2 separate regions of the Homo sapiens genome follow, and region 1 is linked to region 2. Evidence: promoter capture Hi-C in human tissues and cell types (Jung and others, 2019). All regions are on one chromosome and are shown on one strand. The core of a region is centred on a gene start or on the middle of the fragment in contact, and the rest is flanking DNA. Distances in the headings are between cores, read along the strand shown. Region 1 overlaps CCDC125 (coiled-coil domain containing 125). Region 2 holds the start of SLC30A5 (solute carrier family 30 member 5).

Region 1 (2,700 bases), core at 66-2,565, 200 kb after region 2:
TTTTTCCTCTATTCCTCAATTTCCTTCTCAAAAGCATACATTTCAATAAAGTTTAATTAGATAGATACATTTAATGTCATGTTTAAGTGACATTTTTCACATTACTTCCTTCTTGGCAGTTTCCTTTTAATCACCTAGCACTTTTATTGTAAAGTTTTTTCACTAAACATGGTCTTATTTAAATGAAACAGAAGAGTACTAGAAAATAAATATTCCTGTTATGTTATGGTTTATGGATTCCAGTAGTTCACCTGCACATGTAATATCCAATGACTCCTTTTTTTCCATAGTTGCTAAGTTTTTAAGTAAACCACAACCATATGTGAAGTTTCAATTATTTTTGCCCACATTGGATTAAGTGTGCTTCATCAACTTGGATTATAAACAAAACAACTAAAATTACACCCACTTATTGCCATTATAATTCATAGTTACCATCCTCTTTAAGGTGCTTCCAATTCATCCATTTTGTTGCTTTTTTATGCATTTTATCCATTTGTGTCAATTGTAGTGCCTGGTCATTTTTTCTCATTAATTGTTGCTCAAATGCAATTCTGAAAGCATCTGCCATCACGTAAGCTTCTTCTTTACTCTTCTGCAAAATTTCCAACTGATTTTGAAAGACAGTTTGGGAGGTGTCAGAGGCAAAACCAGAACAATTCTTGCTGAATGGGGAATCAAATTAACATATGCAATCTCACTGCCTAGCACTGGTTTATTGCCTGTGGTCTGATCTAGTTTATCTGATTACGCTAATTAATGCTTGCTATTTCTGCAGTAGCAACTTACTCTGATCCAGATTATCAGTTTCCCTTGTGGTGCCTGTCAACTGCCTGCTAACCTAACCCCTGGACCTCACTACCCCATGCAGGCCCTGTGTGTGTGTCCTGCTCAAGTCCTGGGACAAAGGGCCCAGCATGAAAGATAAGAGGATACCAAAGGCTGCATTTCAACTCAGCTTTGGGCCATTCCAGACCACACCACTGAAAATAATGATGAATACGACCTTTCAAATACGTCTTATAGATGACCTTGACTTTGATCAATGTAATCTCATGTTTTTCTTTTCTTCTATTTTTTTCTTCTTCTTCTTTTTTTTTTTTCTTTTGATGGAGTCTCGCTCTGTCGCCCAGGCTGGAGTGCAGTGTCGTGATCTCGGCTCACTGCAAGCTCCGCCTCCTGGGTTCAAGCAATTCTCCTGCCTCTGCCTCTCGAGTAGCTGGGACTATAGGCGCATGTTGCCACGCCTGGCTAATTTTTTGTATTTTAGTAGAGATGGGGTTTCACTGTGTTGCCCAGGCTGGTCTCGAACTCCTGAGCTCAGGTAATCCACCCGCCTCGGCCTCCCAAAGTGCTGGTTTACAGGCATGAGCCACTGCGCCCGGTCTTTCTTTTTGTTTTGGAGACAGGGTCTCTCACTCTGTCACCCAGGCTAGAGTGCAGTGATGTGAACACGGCTCACTGTAACTGTGACGTCTTAGGCTCAAGTGATTCTCCCACCTCAGCCTCCCAAAGTGCTGAGATTACAGGTGTAACCCATTGCCCCCTCATGCTTTTCTTAATGAATGGCTACTGTCCAAATGTTGGCTTTCCTATATACTTTAAAGATTTTATTTTGGCTGGGCTCAGTGGCTCACGCCTGTAATCCCAGCACTTTGGGGGGCCAAGGCGGGTGGATCACGAGGTCAGGAGTTCAAGACCAGCCTGGCCAACATAGTGAAACCCCGTCTCTACTAAAAATACAAAAATTAACTGGGAGTGGTGGCAGGCGCCTGTAATCCCAGCTACTCAGGAGCCTGAGGCAGAGAATCACTTGAACCAGGAGGTGGAGGTTGCAGTGAGCCGAGATTGCACCACTACATTCCAGCCTGGGCGACAGAGCAAGAATCCGTCTCAAAAAAAAAAAAAAACCCAAACACTTTAATTTTTTTAAATTTAATTTTGTCCTATTTTATTCTATTTTAAGTTCTAGGATACAGGTGCAGGATGCAGGTTTGTTACCTAGGTAAATGTGTGCCATGGTGGTTTGCCACACCTAAGGACTTTAAATTCCATACCTTCAATAAAGGTAAAACATTTTAGAATTATGGTCCATGTACTACTGTATTTGTAAGTAAAGACCAAATATAATGGCAGCTATCATTTGAATTAATGTCTGGCATGTTCATGGTGCTGTGCTAAACATTTTATGTCTATTTCCTCACAACAATCATCCAAGGTAGTTATTACCCTCCACTTAATATAGTAGGAAAACTAAGACCTACCCCGTCCAAAGCCACACAGCTAGTAAATGGTGGAGCAAAGATGCAAACCTAGGTCTGGCTGGGACAAAGGTTCCTTTCACTGTGCCTTGCTGCTGTTCAAATACATTCCATGCTTATCTCTCCATTAATCAGTGTTGCTGATCCTAGTGATTTTAAGCATAAATGTACATTTTCCTTCTATTATATAGTAATTTTAGGGACATGTATAGATGAGAACATATAAATTTTAGGAATATTAATTATGAACTTAGGCAAATGACTTTAGGTAGCTTCAAATATCATGCCAAGTACTTTTTTTTTTTTTCTTGGAGATGGAGTTTCACTCTTGTTGCCTAGGCTGGAGTGCAGTGGTGTAATCTCGGCTCACTGCAACCTCCGCCTCCCGGATTCAAGCGATTCTCCTGCCTCAGCCTCCCAAGTAGCTAAGATTACAGGT
Region 2 (2,700 bases), core at 54-2,553:
CGGTTACCAGTACTCCAGGCCCCACACAAAAAGCCACAAAAGCAGTCACCTTCCTCCGTTACTTTATTTGATAGATGACCCCAGGCTCCCTGTGGCAAAGAAGAATCCTTTCTTTTTCTTTCTTTTTTTTTTTTTTTCCAGAGACGGTCTTGCTCTGTTGCCCAGGCTGGAGCACAGTAGCATGATCATGCCTTATTGCAACCTTGACCTCCCACGTTCAAGCGATCCTTCCGCCTCTCCCTCCTGAGTGGCTGGGACCACAGGCATATGCCACGCCTGGCTAATTGTTTTTGTATTTTTGATAGAGACAGGGTTTTGCCATGTTGCCCAGGATAAGAATGTTTCTTTAGAAATCTGGAAATTGCCTTTAGGTTCCCTTAGGAGTAGGAGAGAAGGCCATGAAGTTTCGCACGTGGTCACTCCTAGAAAATTGCCCTGGGATAGTTTGCTGAGGAGGCAAATTTTGGTCAATACTAGTTTCTCCTCTCCAAAGTCCATCAAAGGCATTGTTCAAAAGAAATGGCCGTACCACTATTTGTAATTGATTCTCTACAGCTTCAAAAATAGTTATCTCTGGTTGGGGGAAGGGCACGTGAACTTTTAAGACTTCGGGCCTTCTCATCACAAAAATGATCCATACTCACAAAAACTTAGAGGCAGAGGGTATGTTAACCTAGATTAAGAATCTCTAGGCCGAGTGCGGTGGCTCACTCCTGTAATCGCAGCACTTTGGGAGGCCGAGGTGGGTGGATCACCTGAGGTCAGGAGTTCGAGACCAGCCTGACCAACATGGAGAAACCCCGTCTCTACTAAAAATACAAAATTAGCCAGGTGTGGTGGCACATGCCTGTAATCCCAGCTACTTGGGAGACTGAGGCAGGAGAATCGCTTGAACCTGGGAGGTGGAAGTTGCCGTGAGCCGAGATCGCGCCATTGCACTCCAGCCTGGGCAACAGGAGCGAAACTCCATCTCAAAACAAAAAAAAAAAGAATCCCTAACGCAGAGGAAAAGATTGGTGAGCTTTGTTTAATCACACACGCTGTACATTTTCCACGCCCTCCCCCTCTGCCCTACAGGAATCCGCTGTACTTCTGACGGCCCATAGGTGGCACTGTAGGGACAGGTAAGTGCACAGGGAGCGCCACCCGGAGAGGCTGATAGGAGGCGGAGCTTCAATGCGACACAACGTGGCGGGAGGAGCCTAAGGGACGAGGAAAGGCGAGTGTTCTGCTTGCGCAGACGCAAGGCTGGGCACTCCCCCGGGAGTGAGGGTTGCTGGGCCTGATGACGTGGCTTGGCAACGTCCCTACCGCCGCTGCTTCCCGGGAACCTGGCGCCGCCGGAACTGATCGCGGCCTAGTCCCGACGCGTGTGTGCTAGTGAGCCGGAGCCGGCGACGGCGGCAGTGGCGGCCCGGCCTGCAGGAGCCCGACGGGGTCTCTGCCATGGGGGAGTGACGCGCCTGCACCCGCTGTTCCGCGGCAGCGGCGAGACATGAGGAGACCCCGCGACAGGGGCAGCGGCGGCGGCTCGTGAGCCCCGGGATGGAGGAGAAATACGGCGGGGACGTGCTGGCCGGCCCCGGCGGCGGCGGCGGCCTTGGGCCGGTGGACGTACCCAGCGCTCGGTAAGGGACCGATCCGGAAGGCAGCGACCGGCCGGGTCGCTCAGGATGCACTTTCTCCGGCCTCCCTCCGGTCTCCGCTGACAGCCCGGGACGTCCCGGGGTCGGCGCGCCCTCTCCCCCTGCCTGCCTCCCTGCGCGCAGGCTGCCTCCGGGCTCCCCGGGCTCTTCGGGTGCCTGCTGCAGAAGGAAGGCGCTAAAGCCAAAAAGCTTCTGCTTGAATTTCTGGGTTACAAGGCAGACAGTCAGTCTTAGAACTGCCCGCCAGTTCACGTGAGAGGTTTTTCTGATCTGTGAGAAGCCTTTCTCTTGGCTGTTTCTCCCTGAAATAGTCTGGCGACTACTTAACCTTTCTGACGTTTCCCTGCATAAATTAGGGGAAGGTGTCACCATCAGCTCTCTTCAGGCGACGAAACCAAAGTACATACGTGAACTTGGATGTTCAGGGGAACTTGGATGTTCAGATTAACTGAGCACATCGAGGGTCCAGCCCCGTTTTCTTTTTTTATTTTGTTCTTAAATAAGAAATGTGTCCTCGTTGTCAAAAAAAAATCTAAACAGCAAAGCAATTCATAGAGTAAAAAGTGAAAATTCCCACTTCCTCTCTTCAATTCTCCCACCAACCCGAAAAGTAAGGGACCAACAGGTGCAGCGACCACTTTCTAGTGTATCCTTCCTAAGTTCTGAGATAGTGTCGAAAATGCACAAAATACAGCCCTGCAATTTGGCTGGAACTGGTGTTCTTTGCCTCCATTTTTAACGAGTTCTTCCCATTCTGGAATAAATACTTCTTTGATATTTAAAGAAAGTGATAAATGTGATAAATTCTTTAGAACTGTAGTAATAGCATTATAACGTAACTTTTTTTTTTTTTTTTTTTTTTGAGACGGAGTTTCGCTCTTGTTCCCAGGCTGGAGTGCAATGGCGCGATCTCGGCTCACGACAACCTCCGCTTCCCGGGTTCAAAAGATTCTCCTGCCTCAGCCTCCCGAGGAGCTGGGATTATAGACATACTCCACCACGCCTGGCTAATGTTTTGTATTTTTAGTAGAGACGAGGTTTCTCCATGTTGGTG

Evidence for each region. The method cuts DNA at HindIII sites, captures the fragments that hold promoters and counts their contacts. A contact is called where the count stands out against the background at its distance.
Region 1: a fragment that was not itself captured here is called in contact with the fragment with the promoter of SLC30A5 in region 2 in 1 of the 25 tissues and cell types used here (lymphoblastoid cells).

Annotation. Positions count from the first base shown.
Region 1 is chr5:69,291,753-69,294,452 of GRCh38, forward strand. CCDC125 (coiled-coil domain containing 125) reads right to left here. Exons shown (of 12, transcript NM_176816.5): 10 at 436-610. Among named protein-coding and RNA genes, the nearest start is that of CCDC125, 40 kb to the right of the region's middle. The HindIII fragment of the contact is 3,532 bases long and covers 1-2,700 here.
Region 2 is chr5:69,092,711-69,095,410 of GRCh38, forward strand. It overlaps SLC30A5 (solute carrier family 30 member 5), which reads left to right and starts at 1,304. Exons shown (of 16, transcript NM_022902.5): 1 at 1,304-1,628. The coding sequence starts at 1,546. RefSeq lists silencers at 1,017-1,126, 1,457-1,746, 1,792-2,086 and an enhancer at 1,227-1,326. The HindIII fragment of the contact is 15,344 bases long and covers 1-2,700 here.